Linked DNA regions of Homo sapiens: regions 1, 3, 4, 5, 6 and 7 are each linked to region 2. Evidence: promoter capture Hi-C in 16 types of primary human blood cells and fetal thymus (Javierre and others, 2016). All regions are on one chromosome and are shown on one strand. The core of a region is centred on a gene start or on the middle of the fragment in contact, and the rest is flanking DNA. Distances in the headings are between cores, read along the strand shown. Region 1 has its middle 56 kb from the start of ALG2. Region 2 holds the start of TEX10 (testis expressed 10). Region 3 has its middle 20 kb from the start of ALG2. Region 4 holds the start of TGFBR1 (transforming growth factor beta receptor 1). Region 5 overlaps COL15A1 (collagen type XV alpha 1 chain). Region 6 overlaps TGFBR1 (transforming growth factor beta receptor 1). Region 7 overlaps TGFBR1 (transforming growth factor beta receptor 1).

What was found. The method cuts DNA at HindIII sites, captures the fragments that hold promoters and counts their contacts. A CHiCAGO score of 5 or more calls a contact.
Region 1: a fragment that was not itself captured here is called in contact with the fragment with the promoter of TEX10 in region 2 in 3 of 17 cell types (fetal thymus, M0 macrophages and total B cells); the score reaches 7.8 in fetal thymus.
Region 3: a contact is called between a fragment that was not itself captured here and the fragment with the promoter of TEX10 in region 2, in 1 of 17 cell types (M2 macrophages). The highest score is 7.6, in M2 macrophages.
Region 4: a contact is called between the fragment with the promoter of TGFBR1 here and the fragment with the promoter of TEX10 in region 2, in 2 of 17 cell types (neutrophils and monocytes). The highest score is 7.8, in neutrophils.
Region 5: a contact is called between a fragment that was not itself captured here and the fragment with the promoter of TEX10 in region 2, in 1 of 17 cell types (fetal thymus). The highest score is 6.1, in fetal thymus.
Region 6: a fragment that was not itself captured here is called in contact with the fragment with the promoter of TEX10 in region 2 in 1 of 17 cell types (total B cells); the score reaches 7.8 in total B cells.
Region 7: a contact is called between a fragment that was not itself captured here and the fragment with the promoter of TEX10 in region 2, in 7 of 17 cell types (total B cells, naive B cells, fetal thymus and 4 more). The highest score is 13.0, in total B cells.

The regions. Positions count from the first base shown.
Region 1 is chr9:99,164,384-99,168,094 of GRCh38, forward strand. No RefSeq gene overlaps it. Among named protein-coding and RNA genes, the nearest start is that of ALG2, 56 kb to the right of the region's middle. RefSeq lists an enhancer at 2,764-3,058. The HindIII fragment of the contact is 3,039 bases long and covers 377-3,415 here.
Region 2 is chr9:100,351,478-100,355,168 of GRCh38, forward strand. TEX10 (testis expressed 10) reads right to left here and starts at 1,465. Exons shown (of 15, transcript NM_017746.4): 1 at 1,295-1,465. LOC105376177 (a long non-coding RNA gene) reads left to right here and starts at 1,573. Exons shown (of 4, transcript NR_188642.1): 1 at 1,573-2,104; 2 at 2,520-2,618. RefSeq lists enhancers at 704-753, 1,158-1,792 and a silencer at 1,094-1,643. The HindIII fragment of the contact is 13,255 bases long and covers 1-3,691 here.
Region 3 is chr9:99,200,420-99,204,239 of GRCh38, forward strand. No RefSeq gene overlaps it. Among named protein-coding and RNA genes, the nearest start is that of ALG2, 20 kb to the right of the region's middle. RefSeq lists an enhancer at 2,847-3,016. The HindIII fragment of the contact is 5,389 bases long and covers 1-3,820 here.
Region 4 is chr9:99,103,715-99,107,489 of GRCh38, forward strand. It overlaps TGFBR1 (transforming growth factor beta receptor 1), which reads left to right and starts at 1,399. Exons shown (of 9, transcript NM_004612.4): 1 at 1,399-1,588. The coding sequence starts at 1,492. RefSeq lists silencers at 927-1,526, 1,617-2,126. The HindIII fragment of the contact is 12,693 bases long and covers 1-3,775 here.
Region 5 is chr9:99,000,623-99,004,712 of GRCh38, forward strand. COL15A1 (collagen type XV alpha 1 chain) reads left to right here. Exons shown (of 42, transcript NM_001855.5): 7 at 217-329; 8 at 2,831-2,965. Among named protein-coding and RNA genes, the nearest start is that of COL15A1-AS1, 58 kb to the left of the region's middle. The HindIII fragment of the contact is 1,710 bases long and covers 548-2,257 here.
Region 6 is chr9:99,131,953-99,135,850 of GRCh38, forward strand. It overlaps TGFBR1 (transforming growth factor beta receptor 1), which reads left to right. Exons shown (of 9, transcript NM_004612.4): 3 at 557-787. Among named protein-coding and RNA genes, the nearest start is that of TGFBR1, 29 kb to the left of the region's middle. The HindIII fragment of the contact is 696 bases long and covers 932-1,627 here.
Region 7 is chr9:99,147,839-99,151,677 of GRCh38, forward strand. TGFBR1 (transforming growth factor beta receptor 1) reads left to right here. Exons shown (of 9, transcript NM_004612.4): 9 at 1,342-3,839. The coding sequence ends at 1,467. Among named protein-coding and RNA genes, the nearest start is that of TGFBR1, 45 kb to the left of the region's middle. The HindIII fragment of the contact is 187 bases long and covers 2,198-2,384 here.

The DNA of each region.
Region 1 (3,711 bases), core at 646-3,145, 1.2 Mb before region 2:
TTTTTCTTTTCTGAGACAGTCTCACTCTGTCACCCAGGCTGCAGTGCAGTGGTGCAGTCTCAGCTAACTGCAACCTTCACTTCCCAGGTTCAAGTGATTCTTCTGCCTCAGCCTCCTGGGTAGCTGGGATTACAAGCACGTGGTACCACACCTGGCTAATTTTTGTATTTTCAGTAGAGATGGGGTTTCACCATGTTGCTCAGGCTGGTCTCGAGCTCCTGACATTAAGTGACCTGCCTGCCTTGGCCTCCCAAAGTGCTGGGATTATAGACTTGAGCCACCATACCCAGCCTCCACTGGAGTTTTAAAGGCATGATTTTTAAAGCATTTCTGATGGGAAGTCTGAAATTAATTAAATTCTCATTTCTAATATTCAAGCTTTTAAGCCTTTCTCATTCTTCTTGGGGTTCTGAAATTTCTAAAAATATCTAGGTATGGGTTTTGTTTTCATTTATCCTGCTTGGTACTTAGTGGCCTCTTTCAATCTGAGGACTTGTATTTTTTCCCAGCTCAGGGAAACTTTCTATTATGTCTTTGACTTTATCCCCCACCACCTCTCTGATTTTTTTTCTTACCTTCTGAAACTCCTACTGAATTGATGGATGCTAGCCTCCTGGAGCTTTCCTGTTTCTAGACTTTTAGTTTTTACTATGCTGACTTTTTTCTGTATTTCTGGAGATTTCATTGACTTCCACACAACTGCTCTGGCTTTTGGTCTTGGCCATTCTATTATTCCTGTTTGCTGAATTTTTAAAATTTTGACCCTTATTTTACATTTCTAGAAATTATTTCTTGTTCTCCGATGGCTCCTTTTTTACGGCAGCTGGCTCTTGTTTTGGAGATTTCATTCTCTCACATCTCTCCAGAGATACTAATTAGGGTTTTATCTTTAACATTACCTACTTCATCTTGTTTTTTTTTTCCAGGATGACGTTGTGTTTACTCATGTTTGTTCAACTTGGTTGTGCTATTGGTTTTCCTCAAATATTTGGGGCTCCATGGCTCTCCGTCGACTTTCCTAAATGAAGGATTAGATTAATCTGTATGGATAGCTGGTGTGGCCTGCTTTCACAAGAGGCGTCTCCCTGGAAGGGGAGGGCCAGTTCAGGTCCCCTTGAGTGGCTGGGCCATATTGTCAGCAGGCTCACCTCTAGATTGCAGCAGGCAGCCTGGGATGCCCACGCCTGCCAAGGTAAGGAGGTATTTAAATAACGGACTGGAGTATTTAGCTATAATTTCCTTTTGGACAGAGGACTTTCTACCACCCCTCCATGCCTTCTGATATGGTTTGGCTTTATGTCTCCACCCAGATCTCATCTTGAATTGTAATCCCATAATCCCCTCGTGTCCTGGGAGGTACCTGGTTGGAGGTAATTGAATCATGGGGGCGGTTTCCCTCGGTGCTGTTCTCGTGATAGTGAGTGAGTTCTCATGAGACCTGATAGTTACAGGGGCTTCCCCCTTCACTTAGCACTCATTTTCTCTCTTGCCACCAGGTGAGGAAGGACGTATTTTCTTCCCCTTCCGCCATGATTGTAAGTTTTCTGAGGCCTCCCCAGCCATGCTAAACTGTGAGTCATTTAAATCTCTTTTCTTTATAAGTTACCCAGTCTCGGGTATGTCTTTATTAGCAGCGTGAGAATGGAGTAATACACCCTCTCAACCCAAACTTGCCATATATATTTGTTGGGGAGGCCTACATAGACTTCCAACCCTGTTCTTGTTCTGCTTCTCTCTTGACTTTAGACACCTATATTAGGATCCCTTCCTGGATAGATCACCCACATTTTTTAAGAATAATGATTGGGTCCTAGGTACCCAAAGGGCAAAATTACCACTAGTTGTTCCTTTACGGGTTGAGCATATGTTGAGCAGGGGAAGGGAGAAGGGAGGGGCCCCGAATGTCCCAGCCACTGTGAATGCAGCTCTTTGCTCAGTTACTCTGATGGTTATCCTATGGTCTACTCTTGCTTTCTGTCTCTTGTTTCTGAGTTTGGGGTTTCTCTAGGGCTCCCTTGAGAAGGAAAGTTCTTGGTACTGGTGTTTGGGGCTGTGGTTTACCTTTGTACTTTCTCAGTTGATCTGATCCCATCTACTTTTTCTTTTCTTTTCTTTTCTTTTTTTTTTTTTTTTTTGAGACAGAGTCTTGCTGTGTTGCCCAGGCTAGAGTGCAGTGGCACCATCTGGGCTCACTGCAACCTCCGCCTCCTGGGTTCAAGCAATTCTCATGCCTCAGCCTCCCAAGTAGCTGGGATTATAGGCATGCGCCACCACACCTAATTTTGTATTTTTCGCAGAGATGGGGTTTCACCATGTTGGCCAGGCTGGTCTTGAACTCCTGACCTCAGGTGATCCGCCCATCTTGGCTTCCCAAAGTGCTGGGATTACAAGTGTGAGCCACCGCACCCAGCCAATCCCATCTACTTTCTAGCTTCCAGTATTTTCTCAGACTTTCTCATCTGCTGGCACCCTGTCTTGCTTTCCAGCACTGATCTGATTTCACTCTTTAAAAAATATATTTTATCCCCATGGATCCATGGTGTAGTGGAGAGGTGGATGCATGTGCTCAATTTGTGACTTCCAAACTAATATATTTTTCAAACTTAATTTTTTTTCCTAATTCACATGGTTCAGAAGATACTGAAAGGTCTATCAAGAGGGTACAGGAAAAAATTTTTAAAGGTACTAAAAGGATATATAAAGTGAAAATGTCCCTTTCATCCTATCCCAGATAAAGACTACAGGTTGTCCTCTTATATTTATTCTGCCCTTCTTTCTTTAGAAACAAAATCTCCAATTTTAGCTATACTCATGAATGCTCAGCTAAGGAGGGCGTTTCCTAGTTGTGTCCAAGTCACTGAGTTCTGGCCAGTGGGAGGTGAGTGGAGGCCATGTGCTTAACGTTCAGTGGCTCTCCTAGAGGGCGTGGATGTGCCTTTCACTTTCTTTACTCCCCCTTTCTTATTGGCTGGATTGCAGAGGTGATGGTGAGCCATCCTCCTCCCTGCAGAGGAAGGCAACACTGTAGTGATGGCAGAGCCACACAATGGAATGATCCTGGGTCCCTGACACTTCGTCACCATTATACCTGCCCTGCTTTGTGAGACAGAATTGAAATGCTATCTTGTTTAAGCCTTGCATTTTGGGGTCACTTCTTATGACAGACAGCCTAGTCTGTCTGCTAATTGATATAATCTCTGGGCTATTCAGCTCACCTTCCTGGAGGCAACCAATGTAACCATATTGCTGGATTCTTCCAGGGATATTTCATGCATAAACTAACAAATGCATACAGGCATGCATGCATGAATGCATTCATATGTACATAAACACATATATCCAACCATGCATGTAGCCCCCTCTCCATTTTCACATAAATGATGCTGTACCAAACAGCTACACTTTAAAGAGGCCAAGCTTGGTTTGGAGGAGGATTGCTGGTAATGGCCCTCAGCTCAGCTTCTCCTTTTCTTGCTGACAAGGTGAGCTCTCTCTCCAAATATACACCACCTCCTAGCAAACCACAAACCCTGCAGCTACTGAACCCGCTTTCCTCTGAGGCAGTTTATTACTCAAGCACAACCCTCAGCGCCTTCTTACCCCTTCCCCCCTAAAAAAGAGGTTTATTGAAATGTTCTAGCCACAGAATAGCCTCCCTGTAAACAATTCCAATGCATTTTCCACCCCGTTTTTCATCTTTCTGGGGTCTCT
Region 2 (3,691 bases), core at 215-2,714:
TGGTTTTCATTAATTAAGCAAGCACACTTTGTGAGCTTTTCCTACAATTTTATTACTAGCTGGTACTAGACACGAAAGTAAATGGTACAGGACATTCAGAAAAATTAACTCCCTTCCTCCTCCACTCCTGTGGGTTCTATTTAGCCATTAACCACCTGATAGATCTTCAACAGTCTACTGTCAACTTCATGCCATATTATCTATCGCTTTGTATTAGTCACATTAATGCTTTCTCTGTTAGGAAAATTAAGAAGGCTGATTGACCTTCCTTGACTTTTCAAACCTAGTAATATTATTACGGGATACAAAGCATTTTCATGCGAAGAACTCTCAAAGTTCTACTAGTAATTGACTTTAACTTATAACAAAGATTTTCATAACACAGCAAATCAAAAAGTCCCACTAAGCCACTTTTACAGTAGCCGGTTTTTAGCAAAAGGTAGGAACGCCAGTCTCAGAGGAGGAGCTCACATCACTAGTCCTTAGGTTTGCGATCCCCAATAGTTTCAAAGCTGAATGTCACACATTCCTACTGTAGGTCTTTTCTAATTCCAACAAAAGGCAGATCCTAGCGTTTTTAGGATTTCAATCGAACTAAATTCCAACTATAAATAGTTTGCCTGCCACCTTCTTACCCTTCCTCATTTCCACCTTCTTTTCCAAAAAAAATCAGAGAGAACGATCGTACTGCACTCGGCCTTTGATAATTTCCTCCCCAAACCCTTAAACTCATGAGTTCCTCCAAACTCCACTGAGGGGCCAACCAGAGGCGACAGACTTCCCAAAAAGCAAATGGCCCAGGCAGGGGCGACCCCAGAAAACTGGTAGTCCCCTTCCGCTCGCTTAACTCTCCCGCCTGGGCGACCAGAGGACGGAACAGGGGACGCCAGCTCATCCCCACTCCGTATTCGGTCCTGCATCCATCCCAGAGGCGAACACACCATGGGTTTTAGGAAACCATCGTTCCTCCTACTCCAAGGGACGCCGGCCAGGACCAGAGTCGGGGAAGTGGGGCCCGATTCACACACTCCGGGCTAAAACTCTCTCGGACCCGAAACCAGGCGAACCCGCCCAGTCACCTGAAGCTCCGCAAACGCCCTAGGGGGTCCCGCCCCCGCAGTGCCGGCCGCACACCCAGGCCCAGCTCGGAGGGACGCCGCGGCCCAGACCCGGGGGACGCAAATCGTGCACGGCCGACCCTGCCCGCTTGGGCCGCGGATCGGGGGGCGACGGCCCCACCACGCTCAGTCCCGCGCCCCGGGAGGACCCGGCCCGACGGGCGACGGCCGCTTACCTGAGGACCCGGCCGCGGCCGGGGCGAGAAGCCCGAGAAGACAAGCGAGGGAGCAGAAGCCCACGGGGCAACAGCGTGCGCCGCCGACCTCAGGCTCTAGCTCCCGGAGCGTGTTTTCAAATAGCCTCGTCCTCACGCGGCCGCGTCTCCTTCCGCCGCCCGGAAATCAGGGCCCCTCCCCCTCCCTGCTGTGCTCACGTGATCGCAGCCCGCAGCCGCGCGCAACCGGGGAGGCGGGAGCGGGAGCGGTAGGCCCCGCCCACAGAGGAGGGTACCCCGCCGGAAGCCCCCTGCTCTGTGGGAACCGGAGGGAGGACAGCGCGAGGTCCCCGGACAAAGCGTGGCGCATAAGTCCGGCCCGTAACTTGGTGGGCAGGCAACTTAGGGGATGTGGGCCTGGTTATAGCTGAGCATGCTTTTCTATTCCTCCCAGACCACAGTTCTTCAGACCTGGAGCCACTTTCAGAGAAGAGTATAAGTTGCACTGAATTGAAAAAGGGAAAAGTTTAGGACTGCAGAAGATGGAATTCCTGGGGACGTTAAACTGGGCTAAGATGGAGCAGATAAGATTTCCTTAATTAGAGCAAGACACACCTAGTATCTAGAGCCTGGAAGTCTTGGTCAAGGATTCTCCCTAACATCTCAGTTTCTCAGCACTAACATTCCTGCTACTAAAATGAAGTGAGAAATTAATTTCTGAAGTTAAGTAAAGAAATAAACTAAAATTCCTAGAAAAGAGGTAAGAAGAATGAGCCTTTGAAAAATGTCTTCACAAAGACTGGCATGATGGCATGGAAGAAAGAGCCCCAGGTAAGGACTTCAGACCTTGATTCAAATTTGTGTCTACACCTCACCAGATAATTAAGACTTAGTAAAGCTAGCGAAGATATTGACCCTCATTATATTGGGTGGGAATTCAAAGGAATGATGTCTAAATCCAGGGAGACCCAAGCACTGGAACTAAAACCATGCCTGTTCCATAATCGGAGATAAAGAGGCAGCGCTAGAAACCCTGACCTCCCTTTGCTGGCAATATGGCCACATCACCACAATCTGCCTGGAATCGACCATAACCATAAATATTTGGGAGTCATTGGCATTATGTGGCATTATATTCTGTTTAAAGCTATGAGACTAGATCAGAAGAGGAAAGATTTATTGCCAACCAGACAAGTCCCTGGAACTCCAAACTTGTATCCAACAGTTTTTTCAATGTTTCCTTCAGATATCCAGTATACATCTCAAGGTCAACTTGTCCAAAACAGAGCTACTGATGATTTTCCCCTTGAAATCTACTCTTCCTACAGCTTATTCATCTCAAATAGTAAGTCTGTCCTTGCAGTTACTCAAGCAGAAACCTTTGGGTTTTTGGTTTGGCCTCTTTGTTCCACACCTCACATCTAATCCATCTGGAGATTGACTCTACCTTTAAAGACATCCTAACTTTCACCAGTTAACACACCTCCCCTGCTACCATTCTGGTCCAAGCCGCTTCTTGATCACTGCAAAAAGCCTGCAAACACATCTTCCTGCTTCCCTTATTGTCCTTCTTCCCCCTACAGTCTGGTATCAGCAGAGCAGCTGTGTGATTATTTTAAGATCTAGGTTAGATCAGATCACTCTTTGGCTCAAAACCCTTTAATGGCTCCCTATTTCACTTCGAGTAAAACCCAGAGTCCTTTCTAGGGCCTTCCCTTAGGCTGTTCTTGCATGGCTATAAAGAAATACCTGAGACTGGGTAATTTACAAAGAAAAGAGGTTTAATTGGCTCATGATTCTGCTGGCTTTACAGGAAGCATTATGTTGGCATCTGCTTGCTTTTGGTGAAGTCTCAGGGAGCTTTCAATCATAGAAGGTGAAGGGGGAACAGGCATGTCACATGTTGAAAGCAGGAGCAAGAGAGAGAGCAAAAGAAAAGAGACAGAGAGAGAGAGAGGTGCCACACATTTTTAAACAGCCAAATCTGATGAGAACTCACTATCACTAAACAAGCACCAAGCCATGAGGGATCCACCCCCATGACCCAAGCATGTCCCACCAGGCCCCACCTCCAGCATTGAGGATTACAACACAACATGAGATTTGAGCAGGGACAAATATCCAAACCATATCAGTTCTCAAGCTCTTCCATATTCTGACACAGTCTCTTACCATCTGAGCACTCCTCCTTCCACTCTCCCCTTTTTTACTCTGCTCCAGTCACACTTGCTTCTTTGCCTTCCTCAAACACCAGTGACACACTCCTGCTTTTGGACCTTTTCTTTAGCTTTTCTGTCTGCCTGAAACACTCTTCCCCAATAAGTCCATGTGGCTAACTCCCTCTCCTCCCGAGTCCACTCAAATATCTTCTCAGGGAGCCCTACCCTGACCACCTCATTTAAAATAACAAATTACCTT
Region 3 (3,820 bases), core at 1,273-3,772, 1.2 Mb before region 2:
GAACATGTTTGGTCTCTATCCTGAAGGAGCAAAGATGTGTTCCCACAACCCGGGGAAGCATCTCATAGACCTCTGGGGGAGCAGATTGTCCAGAACAGAGAACCCATGAAACAAGAAAACCTTTCTTTCTCTTTCTGTTATTCGTGGCCTCTCATAGCATTACTTAGGTGTGTTATTAGGATAATTTAAGCCCCATCCACAGACATACGCGTGGAAAGGAAGAAAGGTGTTGAATGGAGACAGAGACCCCCACCCTGCCACATGGGGGACTGTGAGGACTGACTGCAAGGCAGGGTGAGACTCAGCCATGCCACGGCCATGCCACAGTACTACAGAGCATAGCTTTTCCAAGATCCAATCATTCATGATCGCAAGATTTCATTTGCCTTGAAACATTAAGTTCTTCAACTTTCTCTATTATTATTATTGTTGTTTTTAAATCAGAATATTAGAATACTTTGAAAAATCACCCAGTGCGCCCTGAAAGGTATTCTAAATACCATTCTCAATAATCCCTGTGGCTCTTATCGTGGGGAATCTGAAGTTTGAAGTGACATCTCTCATCAATTCTGCCCCTGGGGATAAAGTGGGAGACTGACAGCTGATCACTTCTTGCCTTTGATAAGCCTTTCTTATTCTAATTACACCTTTCCTTAAAGTAACTTTTCCAGCTTCCCACCCTCACCCTGCCCCTTATATCCCTGTTTAAAAGGAGCGTATTCAGATAGCTTGTGAATAATGATGCCTCAGGATGGTTTAATGGGGAAAAAGGAAACCTGTAGAGAGCCTTATCTTGAGTGAGTGTCTCAAGCATCCAAGATTATCTCCCTGTCACCCTGTGACCCATCTTCTTCATGCCACCTTTTAATTTTGGTAGCAATTACAGTGTATATGGATAATGCCCATTAGCATATTCATGGTCATCTCTTCATATTTATTGTCCGCACAACTCATTAATCTTCATCTACTTTGTGTGCTTGACAGCTCAATCTATTTTGCAATCTCTGGGAAGCAGCCATGGCCCCCCAAAGCCTTTGTTTTCCTGTAAATAAACTGTGTTGGGGACCAGGGGACAATGATGCATCCTGTGGTGATTGACACCAGCCACGGCTACTAATCAGGATGGGACTTCATTGCCAGCTGAGTCGAGTGCATTATGGGGCCATTGTTCCAATGCTGCCAGGGCAAGAACACACACAGCCAGTCACCTTCACAAGATGGGTTGATTGTTCTTCAAGATTAGACCGAGTTGCCTTATTATCCATCCCAGACAACAAGGCATCTCACCCAAACAGACGCATTTGCAGGAACAGCCAGCACACCGGCCAGATTTGAATTGCTAATGTATAATCTGCCCGGCACAGATGTGCAATGAATATTTGGATGTTGTTTTGCCCGTCAGTTGAGGAGGATGAATTGATGAGGTGATGAGTATTCAATGATGGGTCCTGGATGTTGGCCAACAGCAGAGGTTGAGCACTTGCATGGATGATCATCAGATTACCCCCCAAAGTGCCTGTGCCATAATTCAGCAGCAAATTCTAGGACAGTCTAGCAGAGTGTACTTCTGGTTGGTGGAAAGTTCCCTTTCTTTTCTGGTACAATTAGATGTTTCGCTGTGTTTTTCAGGCTTAGGAAAGATATAGAAGTTGCCTTTATTGCCCTTCCCTGCCAACTCTTAAGGATATGAATAATGGTTCAGGAGCTAACTACTTGGGTTTCAATTTAGCTTCAGCATTTTCTAGCTCATTTTCTTAAGTTATTTGTGCCTCTGTTTCCTCATTTGTTAAAACAGATTGAAAAATTCTACCACCCATCTAGAACTATTGTGAGGATTAAATCAGATAATGTACACAGACTAAGTGCTAGAACAGTGCCTAGTGCATAGTACATGCTGAAAAGATGTTACCTGTTACTGTATTGTTGGTCATTTGCTTTCTCTCAGTATTACTGTGGTCAAGTAGCTTGGATACACTGGAAATAAAATTAATCCATTTTCATTACCTCAGGAGAGCTCATGGCCTATAGTATGCTACTTTCCCTGGTACATTTCTGATAGAAAATGTACCTTTCCTATAGGAATGGAAGTTTTCCTATAGTTATATAACCATGGAGCCCTTTTTCCTGAAGCATTTTTTACAGCTTATTTTCCTTGGAACATATTATAGGAAAAGCAGCTCTAGAAGGTAAACATTTACAAAGTTTTGAAAGAAAAACATGTGACTCAAGAATTTTATATATAATCAAGCTATTTATATGCAAGACAATGGGAATTATACAAATGCATATATTCTCTCTGAAAAAATGTTATTCAAAGATGTGTTCCATAGAAAGGGAACAATGAATCTAAGGTAGAAACCAGTGAGACCAGTTGATTGTACTGAAGTAAGTCCAAACAACTGCGGCAAATATATTATCAAACTTGAAATAAAAAAATTAAAATATTTGAAAGAAATTATTTATATTGAAATAATGGGATAATGAAATACATCAATGAATAGCAGAAGAATGAAGAAAATCAGAAGGGAAAGCAAGTGTCCTTTTTAAGAAAAAAAAGGATGGTACAAAGAATATATACACATATACACATATATATTATGTATATATGTATTACACTTGTGTGTGTAGATACATACAGTGTACACATATACAGGTGTGTATATATGTGTGTGTACATATATACAGGTCTGTATATATGTGTATATATATGTGTGTGTGAGTATATATGTGTGTATATATATGTGTGTGTGTATATACACACACAGGTGTAATAAGAGCAACCTCAGTAATCTTTAATAAAATATTAAAAACCAATACTATAAGAAAAAACACTAAATCTAAGATTTCTCTATTTATTAGACAAACCAAAAAATATTCAAAATTAAAATATGGGTAAAATATGATTATTTAACGTGAACAAAGAGAAAGTCAGGTCTGAGGATATTAGTATTGAACAATGCAGAATTATGTAAGTCAAAGAGTATTAAACTGCTAATTTCATTTCTTTATCTTCAGTGCTATGCACAGGGTAGGTCCTAAATATATATGAGTAAGATTTATTGTGGAAGTAGAAGCAACGAGTGAAAGGTATGTGAGAAGGCATGATTTGCCTGCAAGGACCTCTTGAGGGTAAGTTTAAAAATAAATTTATTGACACACAATATTTGTACATATTGACAGTGTAACATGACATTTTGTTGCATGCATACAATGTGTAATGATCAAGTCAGGGTATTTGGGGTATTCACCATCTTGAGTATTTACCATTTCTTGGTGTTGGGAACATTTCAGGTTATCTTCTAGCTAATTTGAAATATACAATACATTGTTGTTAACTATAATCACCCTACTCTGCTATTGAACATTAGAACTTATTTCTTCAATCTAACTGTATATTTGTATCCATTAACCAACCTCTCTTCAACCCTCCGACCCCCTCCCAGCCTCTGGTAACTATTTTTCTACTTTATCTCCATGAGATCAATTTTCTTTTCTTTTCTTTTCTTTTTTTTTTTTTTGAGACCGAGTCTCGCTCTGTTGCCCAGGCTGGAGTGCAATGGCAGGATCTCGGCTCACTGCAACCTCCGCCTCCTGGGTTCAAGCGATTCTCTTGCCTCAGCCTCCTGAGCAGCTGGGATTATAGGCACCCGCCACCACGCCCGGCTAATTTTTTTGTATTTTTAGTAGAGACGGGGTTTCACCATGTTGGACAGGCTGGTCTCAAACTCGTGACCTCAGGTGATCCACCCACCTCGACCGCCCAAAGTGCTGTGATTACAGGTGTGAGCCAGCCCACCCAGCTGAGATCAACTTTTTTAGT
Region 4 (3,775 bases), core at 149-2,648, 1.2 Mb before region 2:
TTCAGAAAGGTTAGCTGACTTGCTTAAGTAAGTGTCCTAGACAGGAGGGAGAAAGCGCGCGGGTCTCAGATCCCAGCTCCAATATCCACGCCTTTTCCCTTTTCATCTCCCGGAAGGAAGCCTTCACAGGTGGGGAAAATGCTCACCCAGTGACTCTAAAGTAGTGCACAAATTGGCATTAATCAGAACCATTCTGATTCCTGCTATCAAGGTTTATTTAATTCTAAGCTCAAATGACACAGAAAATAAAATTTCCTCCTTAAAAGGTTCTGCGGAAAAATATTCTCTGTTCTACGTAACAGCCTCCTTGGCTGTGTTTGTGTCTGAAGAAAGGACTAGTCTGACAGGAAGAATTACAAATCTGGAGCTCATTTTGGCGTCGCAGAGGGAAGGTGGGTGGAGCGTCTCGCAGTAAATTAGGAATTCAGAATGAAAACGTAGAGTTTATTTGGGTTTTTAGTGACACCTCAGGATTATTATACAGCAGTGTCAGACACAGCTCAAAGTAATGATGACTGCTCCCCCTCCGCCCCGCGGGAGCTGGGTGCTAAGAAGGGGGAACCCCTCCTTTGAGGGGTTGGGGTGGGGATCCTCCCTTTCCAACCTGGATCGGGAAGGGGTTTGAGAGGAGTGCGGCTTGGATCCCCATCCTGGATCTGTGCTGGAGGGAGGCGGGAGGCTATTTGGGGGTGTGTTTGGGCTCAGGATCTGGGTCTGACGCTGGGATCTGAGGACTTTCTGGGTTTGGAACTGGGTGGGGGAGCTGGGTTTGGGGTGACCGCTGGGAGCAGGAGGAAATAGGAGAGTGAGTCGCATGTGAAGGGCACTGAGGAGGGATCTTCGGGGGAATGCTGAAGTTGATGCGTGGACTTGGAGAGGGGAAGTTGAAGTGGATGCAGGGGCCTGGCGCTGCAGCGGATCTGGGTGGCATGTGCTGGGATTGCCAATGCGGAGCTGTGAATGGGGTCAGGGTGGGGCTGAGGCAGTACCAGATCTTCCGCGCCTAGAGGAGGTTAGAAGAAAAGAGCGTCGAACGGCCACAGCCTTTTTCCGAAAGAGACTCACACAGACACACCCATCGCTCTACCCGGCCCTCCGGGGCTAGCGGCTGAGCGGTGCTGGGGCTGGCAGACCCCGCCCCCACGCGGCCTCTCGGAGCCGGGAGCCGATCGGGCCGGGGCTGGGGTCTGGCGGCCCAGCCCCCGGGGAGCGTGGGGCGTGGCCAGAAACCGGCGCTCGCGGCTGCGGATTGGCTGCCTGGCGGGCCCGCAGGCGGGGCTCCCGGCTGGGTCCCGCTTGGCAGCTCGCGGCGGCGGGGAGGCGGGGCCGGCGGGAGCCCGGCAGCCAATGGACGCGCGTCCTCCGAGCAGTTACAAAGGGCCGGAGCGAGGCCGCCGCGGCGGCTAGGGAGGTGGGGCGAGGCGAGGTTTGCTGGGGTGAGGCAGCGGCGCGGCCGGGCCGGGCCGGGCCACAGGCGGTGGCGGCGGGACCATGGAGGCGGCGGTCGCTGCTCCGCGTCCCCGGCTGCTCCTCCTCGTGCTGGCGGCGGCGGCGGCGGCGGCGGCGGCGCTGCTCCCGGGGGCGACGGGTGAGCGGCGGCGCGGCGGGCGGGCGACTGCGGGGCGCGCGGGCCGGACCCGGCCTCTGGCTCGCTCCTGCTCTTTCTCAAACATGGCGCGGGGCCGGGGGCGCAGGTGGCGGCGCCGGGGCCCGGGCCGGGCTCTCGTGGCGCCGCGCGGCTCGGCGGCTGCCGGGCGAACCGCAAGCGGGGAGCGGAGGCGGGGCAGGGGCGTGTGTCCGGGCGCGGGCGGACGTGTCCGGCTGCCCGAGGCCGCCCCGCTCGGGACTCCCCGGGGAGGTGGAGTCGGGCGGAGTCGTCCGAGGTCCGGGGCTGCCCTCTGGGGTGTGAGTGGGCGAGGGCCAGGGGCGGAGAGTGCGAGGCCGGCGGGGACTGGCAGAGCCGTGGCTGCCCGCCGCCGCCCCCTGGGCACGGCGTGACCTTGTTCTGGGGACCCCCGCCCCAAGAGGGTCCGTGCCAGAGGCTGCCGAACCCGGGGCGGGGTTTGAGGTTGGGGTGGAAGGCGGCTCCCGGGCGGGGTGTGAGCTCCGAGCCTCTAGGGCTTCGTCCAGTGGGAGTCGGGGGCGACGTGTGGTGAGACCCCTGGGTCCGCAGGCCGCCCTGACTCCCGCCCGGCTCGACCCGAGCCGACCCTGCTGGAAGGGGCTGCTCCTCCAGCCAGGGGGGCTTTGTGTGAGAAGAAGGAAGCGCGGAGATGCGCGGAATGTTTCTTCTTTCGTGCGTCTGGGGAGTGTTGAAGTGAGTCCAGTAACCAGACGGCTACGGATTGTTTTCATAGTGGAAACTTGAACGTTTGCTCATTCTGCGGGTTTTGGAAATTTTGGGAACGACTGTGAATTGATTAAACGCTTTTTATTTCCTCGAAGGAACATCACTCACGTTGTTCCTTTTCTTGAGTGACAGTTAATAGTTTGATTCAGACATCTGTATAGCTGGTTTTCAAGGAAGACTGTTGGCTGGATTTTTCAAAATAGTAAATCAGGTTGGGGTAGGTGGTTGGTATCCACAAAGGGATGAGTGAAAAACTTCGTTAGCAGCTGAACTGAGACACTAGAAGCTAAAATACACAGCCTCAGTGTTAGCAACTAAAATGCAGTGAAAGTACATTTCTGTTTCTGAAACTGGACAAAAGATGTTGAAATTTTTTTAAAAAATCAAGACTGACGGTGACGATTATAATCAGTCCTAATAGCTACCGTCTATGTATTGTGCATTACTACGATGTAAATGCATACACTATTGTATAATTACATTATTTAATCACCACAAGTAAACTCCCAGGAGTAGTGGCATTTGCCCCACTTTACAGATGTGCAAAGTGGGGTACAGACACGTTAAGTACCCAATAACTTAAGTGCTAAAGCTAGGATTTTCACTCAGATCTCAGTTTCCCAAACCTGTATGTCATATATATATATAAATATGTATACATCATACTATCTGGCGTAGCCCATTTTTCTTCTTCAGTCGTCTGATGAGCAATTGGTCTTTATTATCCACTTTGGATTCTGTCCTCATGATTTGAGTATCAGATAGGCTTCATTCCGACTCTTAGCACATTGTTGAGTCCCTTCACGTGGGCCTGCATTAGAGGAAACAATGGATTTTTGACATTGGCCTAGGGAGGAAGGCAGGATAACTGTGTGGACATTTGGGAGAATCAGTATAGTTAGGCATGAAACACAGGTAACATTTCCACACCGCTATTAACTTGAATAACACAGTGCACTCTTTTCCACCAGAAGTAGCACAAGAAGCGTTCATGTATTCAAGTAACAGTAGTGGACTTAGTTGAAGACACAGAACATTGCTCAGTCCATGTCCTGGAGGAGTTTACAGTCTCCATGGTATGCACAAAATACAAAGCTGTCCAGGTGCTTATTACTCTAAGCCCAGACTGCCTCAGCTTGTCTGCCTCCCCTGTTGGTTATGATGATGCCTCAGTCCACCCTTAAAAAACATTCTGAAAAAGGTCAAATGCTTTTTATTTCCTCTGTAACTTGGCTTCCCTTTTAAAGACTTGCACCTTTTTATGTTCTGAGTATGTTTTAATGTTCTCTGCCCAACTTCTGTCTCCAACATAGGTTTCTCTAGGGAAATTGATTCCTTATCCCTAGTGCACAGTTTAGTACCACTATGTCTATATGTATATCCCATCTGAGAATGCTATTTGCTTCCTTTCTGCCATTTCATAAC
Region 5 (4,090 bases), core at 153-2,652, 1.4 Mb before region 2:
GAAGTTGAGCGACTTGCCTGCAGGTGGTGCCAGAGCCTGGAATGGAAACCACACATGCTTTGCCATGTATGTTGTTCTGCAACTTGTTTTTTCCCCCTCTTGACCCTGTGTCATGGTATCTGAACATCTTTCCAAGTTAGCTGGTGAAGAGATACCTCATTCTTTTCCAAGACTGCAAAATGTAGTTATTGATAGCAGAATGCCTGCTTCCTGTAGGGTCTGGTGAGATCCTGAATGACACACTGGAGGGGGTTCATTCTGTGGATGGTGACCCCATTACTGACAGCGGCTCAGGGGCTGGGGCCTTCCTTGACATTGCTGAAGAAAAGGTGAGTAGATGGTAAATTTCATTTGATTAGTCAGTAGTAGGCTTGTTTGCTTATTTCAAACTTGGTGATGATTTTACTGAGCACCAGAGAGAACCACAAGGGTTTTGGTTGAATAGCATCAAGATTGCTTCTGTCCTCATGGTACAGAGGAGGTCAGAGTCCCAGGGCCACAGAGGCTCTCCAGGGATGCACAGGACTGGTGGGGGATATGCAGTGCAAGCTTGTCCTCACACTTGCCTGTGATGAGCGAGCGTCCAGGCCTCACCAATGCAACCCCGCCCTCCTGCTCAGTTGTGAAGGCACATAGCTTTATCAGCCCTTTGAGTCCCCTTCAAGACAGAATCAGATTAACTGCAGGTGTGTTCATGCTATTGTTTGGTAATTGGCTTTTACACCTGCAAAGCCAGTTTTTGAAATGCTGGGCTCCCTAGGGTGCAAAATTAAAGCATAAATAGTTTTCTCACAATGGCCCCTGCTGAAAACCCACAACGCCAGCTCATTCCTTCCCTTCTCCTGGGATGAAAACTTAAGACAGTTCTCACAGCTCTCTCAGTCACTATCTGGTAACAGTCAATTTTCACAGATATTTAAAAGTCAAGCCCAGCATAATATCAAAAATTCAACAAAATTACAAACACAGTTTCCCCCCTTCTATACTCAGGCCTACTGTAGACTAGGAAACTGCCAGGAAAGGGAAGCATGGTTAGGGGTTTCCTCTCTATTTTCTTACTTCTCTCTCCTCCTTATCCTCATGATCTCCCCATCCTCTAGAGCTATTTTTAACATCTGCAGGGGCTGGCCCACCTGGAGAAATGGACACAGTTGTACTTGGCTGGTCAAATTGTGATCTGGGCTTTTGGTGTGGAAGATGCCTGATTGTTGGAACTCTCTCTTATGGGGGCTTTTGTGGTTCCTGGGAGGTCTTCCTGCAGGGGACCTAGGATCAAAATTCCATAGTTTGCCTTGTAACTTCTGCCCGGGCTTCCACCCCATACAGGTTGCCCAGATCTTCTGCGTGGCTCTTTGAGTACAGCCCATTTCAGCCAGCTCCCTTTGGAGAGATTTTATCTTGTCTATCTCCAGCAAAACAACTGCAGGACAAATACCCCTCCCTTCTCCATCCCCCTCCCCTCCTCTCCCCTTTCCCTCTCACCTCCTCCTTCCCTCCTCTCTCCTTTTATTCCCTCCCTTCCTCTCCTCTCCTCTCCTCTCCCCTTTTCTCCCCTCCCCTCCTCTTCCCACTTCCCTCCTTTTCTCTTTCTCCCTCACCTCCCCCTCCTCTCCTCTCCCCTTCCCCTCTCTTCCTTTGTCCCTCTCTCCCAACTCTGAATCTAAAGGGCTCCCTCCTTTCACCTTTTGTCTCCCTGGAGAAAATCAGACACCAGTCCCTGAGCCTCCCAAATTCCAGGAAATACATACCCAGCTCACCAAATGGTTTGGAGTGAGTAGAGGGGAGGAGAAGAACCGCAGTACACTGAAAATTCTTTCCAAAGGAATTCTTGCTCTCCAGGCACTCAACCCCAAAATGAGTCCTGTATGGTTTCTTACACAGCCTAGAGGTAGGAGATGGGCAGGAGCTGGTAGAACGGGTGCCATTTCCTTGTTTTAGCATGGGGAGATTACCTGATGCCTGTGAAATTGCACTTGCCCTTTGGGGCTTTAGCTGACGCTGAGTTAGAAAGAGTCTCATTTTAACATCCTGGGACCTCAACTTTCCTCTAACTGTTTTTTGAGACAGTAATTCTGCAAGGATTTAATATATTTTATGAAAAAGGGGCTCTGTGGTCAAATGACTTTGGGAAATGCTGCACTCTACATTCCTCTTTTTATAGATTCTGAGAAATCCTGCAGCAAGGAAATCTTTTTAACTTTGATTAGCCTGGTGTTTTTTGTAACCAAAAGAACCACATTTTTGCAATAAATAAACAAGCTTTGGGAAATGAAGATAGAACATAGTTTGCTGTCACCAGCCCCAAAGCTGCTCTCTCTTTCCATTTCTCCCATTGCTATGAAACCTTCAGAGAATCTGCCTGTGCATTCCCAAAGGAAACTGAGTCACAGGGAGAGAGAAGAAGCAGGAATGTCTCTGTCTCCCAGCCTAGAGAAGGCTGAGGAGGACAGAGGTGCTGCCTACACATTTCTGAAGCATCTTCATGGGCAAAGACATTGTCTAATGCCTTCTGGATGGGTACATGGGGAGGTCACAGGGAGGCAATGGGTTTCAGTAGAAGTATCTAGAGCTAGACCAGGCTGACTCAGGAGCAGTGATTTCCGTGTTAATGGAGGTGCAAACCAATACTGGGAATCAAACACCAGACATAGGTGCCTGGGCAGTCTTTCCCATCCCTGGATTTATGAAACCATAGATGTGAAAGTCCTTGAGAGAAAGAAGCTACAGAAATGCAGGTGGCTGGAGAAGGCTAGGCAGTCTGTTCTCACCAGCCACAGGCATGTTGATGGGAGCCCAGAGACATGGTCTCTTGTGATGCCTTTGTTTTCAGAATTTAGCAGCAACAGCAGCGGGGCTGGCCGAGGTGCCCATCAGCACTGCTGGAGAAGCAGAGGCCAGCAGTGTGCCCACCGGGGGACCAACCCTCTCTATGTCCACGGAGAACCCAGAGGAAGGGGTCACTCCAGTAAGTAGCTCAGAGCGCAAGCTCCCCTTCACCTGTGTCTGGGGTTGTGGGTTGTGTTGGGTGGGAGCAGTCACTGGCTTTCCCTATGTGTCTGTGAAACACAGTGACAGTCTCATGGGGGCAGTCTGTCGGAGTAAGCACTAAATAGCATTGACCCATTCAGTGGCGGTGTGCAGAGCCCTACACTGTGCTGGGCACTAGGCCTGGTTTCAGGGATGGATAGTAAATAGGATAGACGTGATTCCTGAAGACAGGGTGGTAAGAGGGGCTGTGGTCAGTGGTAGGTGAAGCACAGGATGCCCTGGGAGCACTGAAAAAGGGGCCCAGAGCCCAGACTCGGGGGCACAGAAGTTTCCTGGGGAAAGGATGCTGAAGGCGGGCCTGAGAGGGTAAGTAGAAGTCGCCTAGCAGAGGGGGTGGAACAGGTGTTTCAGCAAGGTGGGCTGGCAGGAGCAAAGGCCTGAAGCCTGAAGAAGGGCAGCATACCTGTGGGGTCAAGCGTGAGCCAGGGGTCGGGGAGAAATGGCTGGAGAGGCTCTAAGGACACAGAGAAGATTCAGCAGAAGTGGGGAGTCACTGAAGGGTAAGAAACAAGGAATGGATGTAGCCAGATTAGAATTCCAGAAAGATCACTCTGACTACTGAGAGGAGAAAGGGTGGGGAAGCAAACTTGGAGAAAGAGGCCGGGCTTGGGGGCTGTGTTGGAGTTTGGGTGAGTGGTGGTGCCAGCCTGCCCTGGGATGTGGCCAACAATGTCAGATCCTCCCAGAAGTCCCAGTGAGCAAGGGGCTGAGAAACATCCATTGAATTTGTCCATTCACGGTGAGTGGCCTTGGGGAGAGCAGCTTCAGGGCTATCGGAGCGGTGGAAGCCAGATGGCACTGGGCTAGGAAGAGAGTGGGACAGGGAGTGGTCCACGAGGGTAGACTACTGCTTCAACAAGAAAGCTGTGGAGTCTGAGGACCTAGACTTTTGTTTCAACACAGTGACTTAAGCACCAGTAGAAGCTGCACTCTCTGATTAGGGGACACAGCTTGGAAGGGCTATTGGTGAGCACATGCCCCTCGGGGTTGGCAGGGAGTGGCTGGTGGCACACCACACGGGTGGGATGCTGGGGTGGTCTCG
Region 6 (3,898 bases), core at 30-2,529, 1.2 Mb before region 2:
AGTGAAAATCCATCTCAAAAAAAAAAAAAATTGGTGGAGAGATATATACTGAAATGTGAGTTGTTTAGAAGTGATGAAGATGTATGTGGTTTTTTTTTTCGCTTGTTTTGATATTTTGTTGTTTTTTTTGTTGTTGTTTTTCTTGCTATGAGCATGTACTGGCCTTGGAACAAGAAGACAAGCCAAACATTAAAAAAAATATGATTTTTAAGGAGATGTTAATAGGTATTGTTACAGGTTATTGGTATTAGTGACCTGATGTGATAAGTGGGGAAGGTCCTATGATATTGGCGGCAGTTGGCCTTGTAATGATGGCTGAAGAATACAGGAGTAAGTGGGTGCTGACAGAGCTGGTGTGCATAAAAGGAGGCCTAGTGGGAGAAGACTGATTCACTTGTTCTGGGTTTGAGCCCTGTAAACTGCTGTAATGAGGCTCTTTGGCTAAGTGGTGGCAGTGGCCAGCTGCAGGAATTGTGTAGGATTGGGAAAATGGGGGTTGCCACCTACAGTGTTTTTGTCGTTGTTGATGTTTATTTCACTCGAGGCCCTTTTTCAGTAAAGTCATCACCTGGCCTTGGTCCTGTGGAACTGGCAGCTGTCATTGCTGGACCAGTGTGCTTCGTCTGCATCTCACTCATGTTGATGGTCTATATCTGCCACAACCGCACTGTCATTCACCATCGAGTGCCAAATGAAGAGGACCCTTCATTAGATCGCCCTTTTATTTCAGAGGGTACTACGTTGAAAGACTTAATTTATGATATGACAACGTCAGGTTCTGGCTCAGGTAACATAATTGTTTCTCCTTTTTCCTAAGACATCTTTTTAAAATTAAGCGATACTTATTTTATTAGTTTTCTAATAAGCCAACTTGCTAGAATGTGAGATAGTATAAATAATATTGCAGGTTTGAACCTAATAAAAATCTTTAAGCTTGATGTATATATGACTGTGGCTGGTTTAAAATAGATTGGAACTTAACTTTAACTGTTAAAGCGAATCAATAAGTCAGCTCCATGGTGGTATAAATTTCAAAGCGTTCTCACTTGTATAATCTAATTTGCTTTTCATCACTGTGAGGTAGAAAGGATAAGAACAATTATTCTCATATAGATGAAGCTGAAGGTCAAAGATATTCACATGATCTGCAGCTAACCCATTCTATTCAGGATTGTTTAGCAGCTTGATGTTTACATTTGAAAACAGGCATGACAGAAATGTATTCAGAATTGTGAAGGTTATTTACTTTTTAAACATTATATGAAATTGTCTTTCGTATAGGCCTGGTTTTTTAAAATTAAACTAATGAACTCTTATGTCATTTTCTCACTTGAGAAAAATGTCTAACCACCTTCTTATTTAATGTAGTTTTGGCCCCTAATGACGTTTTCTTTTCTCAGTTCTATTTGTTGATATTTGTGGCATCAGAAGTAGATGAGCTAATTGTCAGAGTCATCCCAAGGTGGATTTTGGCATAGCAGTGCTTCATGTTTAAACTGAAAGGGGGTTATCTTTTACTTTTTCTTGCATGTGGTTTGGAAAAATATTAAGAGAGGAACACTCCTATCCCCTGTGTTTTTAGAATTTGACACTTGGTGAAGAATAAATAGATCTAGGTTTCAAGGCAAGCTTTGTCATTGATTGGCTGTATAACCTTGGTTAGAACATGTTTCCTCTTTGGGCTTCTGTTTCCTCATCAAAAATATGGAACCCATACTGTTGATAAAAACACTTCAAGTGGTTTGTTAAGACTTTTAAATGAGATGTACTATCCTTTGAAAAGTATGAGTCATCTTCAAATAAGGGCTAAATTCATGAATAAAGTGAAAATTTGTAAAGCGTATATAATGAAAATTTCACTAATTTTGGTGAAAGCCCATCTCTATTAAAAATGCAAAAAAATTAGCCGGGCGTAGTGGCATGCGCCTGTAGTCCCAGCTACTCGGGAGGCCGAGACAGGAGAATCACCTGAACCTGGGGGGTGGAGGTTGCAGTTAGCTGAGATCGCACCACTGCACTCCAGCCTGGGAAACAGACTCCATCTAAAAAAAAAAAAAAAAAAAAATTTTCACTAATTTTATAATTGAGTGATATTAAAGGAATGTTAAAGCAGAAGTTGTGACTGGGTAAGAATATAATTCTGAAGCATAAAATCACATCTAATGTTGCAGAAAGCTCATATAATGACAAATGTCTATTTATTTTAAGGAAATGAATATATATTGGTATGTATGCATATCCATTCATTTAAGAATGAAGAAACTGATTTTATTACCTGAATTATTCTTCTATAGAATTTGGCCATATGTATTCAATAAGAGAGCTCTCTCCTTGACTACTAGGACACACACAGGCTCGCACTGGAGCTCACGTCCCAGAAGGCAAGCTTAGGGATTCCTGAAACAGTTGTGCAAGGAAGACAATGAGAGTTTGGACTTAGATGAAGCAGTCTTAGTACTGAAGGTGTGATAGTCTTTAGGCAGGCCTGGTGGACAGAGGTTATTTTAGAGCTTTCCTGGGACTTCCCATTTATTCTCAGTTCAGATCTTCAAAAAGATTTTGCTCATTCTGGAAGTCATCCTGCTCAAAACTGTGATAATCAAGGACCAGAGTCACAGAAAATCAGGATGGCTACAGATATTTGGAATTAATCCCTCAAACCTGTTCTCTTGTTTCTAAACTTATACTCCGGAAAGACACAGCACTCATGCCACTTGCCACAGTGGAATAAGCCCACCTAACTGATTAAAGGAATTGGTGGGTGGGTGGCAGTTGATTACTGGATAAGAATATCTTCATTAACCTTTTAAGATATAAACATGAGAAACAATGGAATAATTCTGTTTCCATTATATATATATATATATATATATATATATATATATATATATATATATATATTTCTAGATCCATGAGGGACCATAGCTCTCTGTTCTCTGAAAGCTTCTCTCCCTCCTTTGATGCCTTACCCTGCAAAAACTTGTCTGCATTGCTTGCTAGCTCTGTGGCTTTGGGCAGTTAACCAATGTCTCATGCTTGAGTTATTTCATCTTTAAAATGAAAGTGATGGATTCTGTGCACATCATTGGATTGTTGTGAGTTCAAGCAAGACAAAATGTTTGCATGAAAGCACTTGGTAAATTGTAGAGTTATGTCCAAATGACAAGTGTTACTCTTATTGAAAACATACTTGGAGGAAAAATCTAACATACAGTATCAGTTGACCACATTGTACAAAACTTAGTTTAAGGCCTCCTTTGCCTGTCATAGTTCATTGTGTACTGAATTCCCTCCAAACCTATCCAGGCAGAAGCCATCTTCTGGTGAATAATAGCAGAAAATGCCATCTGTTTCCCTTCTATTCATTATAAATCCTTAATGCCACCTTAGGCATGAGACTAGTGCCTGTGAATAAGTAAACTGTGTGTTTGTAATACTCTGTTTTTAGTTCTTTCATTAATTGAGGAAAAGGTATAAGCATTTCACATTCTGAATTCATATGTTTATTACTTAGTACCGTGACCATAATTAAGGAAAGGCCCTGTCTCTACCTCTAAAGACTGTGCTTTTAACTTGGGAACTTCAGGGAATACAATGAAGAGCTGGGTTCTGGCAGCTGTACGCCAAGTGTGTGAGTGTGCACATGTGCATATGTGCCAGCTTTTGTAAGTGAGTCTTCTAGGCCAGTGTTTGTTATGGCGTGTGCAGCTTATGAGCTCTTGTAATATATGCATGTTGTTCGGGTCTTATTTCCTGTTCACTGCATGTAAAGCTGTGGAGTCCCTGTTTCCCTTTTGAAGTTTTCTCTCAAACAGTTCTAAAGGTACAGAAGAGTAGAGCAGAGAATATAGAGATCTAAATTAGGCCTATTCAGTTTTGTCTTTAGAAGAAAATTGTT
Region 7 (3,839 bases), core at 1,041-3,540, 1.2 Mb before region 2:
GCAAAAGTTTGCTACTTTTCTTTAAGGAAAACTTTTCTTTAAGAATTTTCTTTTTCATAGCAGTCAAACCAATGTTTAAAAACAGAATAATTTGGTTTTCATATTCAATTGTAAGCACATTGAAAGGGCCATGGAACATTTGCAGTGGCCTTTAGTGTATCAGAACATAGTTTAGATCTGCCGGGCGAACTAAGGCACATATTTTTAAATGAATGCCTCCCTTCAGCCGGGGCAACCCAGAACACTAGACAGTTACCGGACATGAATGAGGAGCCCTGTATTCTAGACCAGCCTGGCTACCATTTCAAGGGTCTGACTCTGAACAAATCCCTTTAGTTCTCTGGACTTTAATATCCCTTTGCAAGGTGAGGAACTCAGATAAGGTGATTACAAAGGTGTTTCAAATGATTTTCCGTTTTATTCATCTGATTGCCCAGATAACCGTTAACCAGGAATTTAGGGAAAATGCTTTTTTCCAGCAGTATCTGAGCTGCTCAACTTCAGCTCTAACAAAAAGTTTTAGAAACGTTTTTGTAATTGTAAATTTAAAGATTCGTAAGATGAATTTTATTTAACCTCTCCTTAATTGCTAGCTGTTACTATTACAATATTGGTGAAGCAGAGCATATTCCTCCAGGTTTGAAGATTTGTAGCTTAAAAAGGCTATAAAAAGCTGTTCAGTTCAGTAGTTGATTTTACGTCTTAAACTATTGTAGGACTCAGCAGAACCTCTGATAAGCAAGAGAGCTTGCTACCTCCAACAAAATCACATCTCCAGGCCCAAATAAATAAAATGTATTTCAGCATGCTTAAGGAATTTGCATGTGACATAGTTTAATAAATGAGAGTGCTGCTAGATTTTGTCTTTTAGAAATTTGATCTACTTGGGAGGCTGAAGTGGGAGGATTGCTGGAGCCTGGGAGGTCAAGGCTGCAGTGAGCTGAGGGCATGCCATTGCATTCCACTTTGGGCGGCAGAGTGAGACCCTGTCTCAAAAAAAAAAAAAAGAAAGAAAAATTTGATGTGAATACTTCAAAGTACAAACTTAAAATTTCAGTGTGAGGTCAGATTTCTTCTTTGCTTTGCCCAGCTCTGGTTTAGGATTCGGCCTTTTCAGGTTTGCTAAATGAGTCACTCTTTGTCCACCTGCTTTCCAGCACTGGCACCAGTACCCTATTGATGGAAATTTATGTAATTTCTACTCATTTGCTATTACAAATAATGCTTAAACAATAACAAGTGTATATGTCATTTAAAAAGAAAATTTACACGTAAAAATTCTTATCCAGACCAATGGAAAATGGTGCATGCATTAATTTTTTTTTTTATATTTTCTTGTAGGCCTTGAGAGTAATGGCTAAAATTATGAGAGAATGTTGGTATGCCAATGGAGCAGCTAGGCTTACAGCATTGCGGATTAAGAAAACATTATCGCAACTCAGTCAACAGGAAGGCATCAAAATGTAATTCTACAGCTTTGCCTGAACTCTCCTTTTTTCTTCAGATCTGCTCCTGGGTTTTAATTTGGGAGGTCAATTGTTCTACCTCACTGAGAGGGAACAGAAGGATATTGCTTCCTTTTGCAGCAGTGTAATAAAGTCAATTAAAAACTTCCCAGGATTTCTTTGGACCCAGGAAACAGCCATGTGGGTCCTTTCTGTGCACTATGAACGCTTCTTTCCCAGGACAGAAAATGTGTAGTCTACCTTTATTTTTTATTAACAAAACTTGTTTTTTAAAAAGATGATTGCTGGTCTTAACTTTAGGTAACTCTGCTGTGCTGGAGATCATCTTTAAGGGCAAAGGAGTTGGATTGCTGAATTACAATGAAACATGTCTTATTACTAAAGAAAGTGATTTACTCCTGGTTAGTACATTCTCAGAGGATTCTGAACCACTAGAGTTTCCTTGATTCAGACTTTGAATGTACTGTTCTATAGTTTTTCAGGATCTTAAAACTAACACTTATAAAACTCTTATCTTGAGTCTAAAAATGACCTCATATAGTAGTGAGGAACATAATTCATGCAATTGTATTTTGTATACTATTATTGTTCTTTCACTTATTCAGAACATTACATGCCTTCAAAATGGGATTGTACTATACCAGTAAGTGCCACTTCTGTGTCTTTCTAATGGAAATGAGTAGAATTGCTGAAAGTCTCTATGTTAAAACCTATAGTGTTTGAATTCAAAAAGCTTATTTATCTGGGTAACCCAAACTTTTTCTGTTTTGTTTTTGGAAGGGTTTTTGTGGTATGTCATTTGGTATTCTATTCTGAAAATGCCTTTCTCCTACCAAAATGTGCTTAAGCCACTAAAGAAATGAAGTGGCATTAATTAGTAAATTATTAGCATGGTCATGTTTGAATATTCTCACATCAAGCTTTTGCATTTTAATTGTGTTGTCTAAGTATACTTTTAAAAAATCAAGTGGCACTCTAGATGCTTATAGTACTTTAATATTTGTAGCATACAGACTAATTTTTCTAAAAGGGAAAGTCTGTCTAGCTGCTTGTGAAAAGTTATGTGGTATTCTGTAAGCCATTTTTTTCTTTATCTGTTCAAAGACTTATTTTTTAAGACATGAATTACATTTAAAATTAGAATATGGTTAATATTAAATAATAGGCCTTTTTCTAGGAAGGCGAAGGTAGTTAATAATTTGAATAGATAACAGATGTGCAAGAAAGTCACATTTGTTATGTATGTAGGAGTAAACGTTCGGTGGATCCTCTGTCTTTGTAACTGAGGTTAGAGCTAGTGTGGTTTTGAGGTCTCACTACACTTTGAGGAAGGCAGCTTTTAATTCAGTGTTTCCTTATGTGTGCGTACATTGCAACTGCTTACATGTAATTTATGTAATGCATTCAGTGCACCCTTGTTACTTGGGAGAGGTGGTAGCTAAAGAACATTCTGAGTATAGGTTTTTCTCCATTTACAGATGTCTTTGGTCAAATATTGAAAGCAAACTTGTCATGGTCTTCTTACATTAAGTTGAAACTAGCTTATAATAACTGGTTTTTACTTCCAATGCTATGAAGTCTCTGCAGGGCTTTTACAGTTTTCGAAGTCCTTTTATCACTGTGATCTTATTCTGAGGGGAGAAAAAACTATCATAGCTCTGAGGCAAGACTTCGACTTTATAGTGCTATCAGTTCCCCGATACAGGGTCAGAGTAACCCATACAGTATTTTGGTCAGGAAGAGAAAGTGGCCATTTACACTGAATGAGTTGCATTCTGATAATGTCTTATCTCTTATACGTAGAATAAATTTGAAAGACTATTTGATCTTAAAACCAAAGTAATTTTAGAATGAGTGACATATTACATAGGAATTTAGTGTCAATTTCATGTGTTTAAAAACATCATGGGAAAAATGCTTAGAGGTTACTATTTTGACTACAAAGTTGAGTTTTTTTCTGTAGTTACCATAATTTCATTGAAGCAAATGAATGAGTTTGAGAGGTTTGTTTTTATAGTTGTGTTGTATTACTTGTTTAATAATAATCTCTAATTCTGTGATCAGGTACTTTTTTTGTGGGGGTTTTTTTTTTGTTTTTTTTTTTTTGTTGTTGTTTTTGGGCCATTTCTAAGCCTACCAGATCTGCTTTATGAAATCCAGGGGACCAATGCATTTTATCACTAAAACTATTTTTATATAATTTTAAGAATATACCAAAAGTTGTCTGATTTAAAGTTGTAATACATGATTTCTCACTTTCATGTAAGGTTATCCACTTTTGCTGAAGATATTTTTTATTGAATCAAAGATTGAGTTACAATTATACTTTTCTTACCTAAGTGGATAAAATGTACTTTTGATGAATCAGGGAAT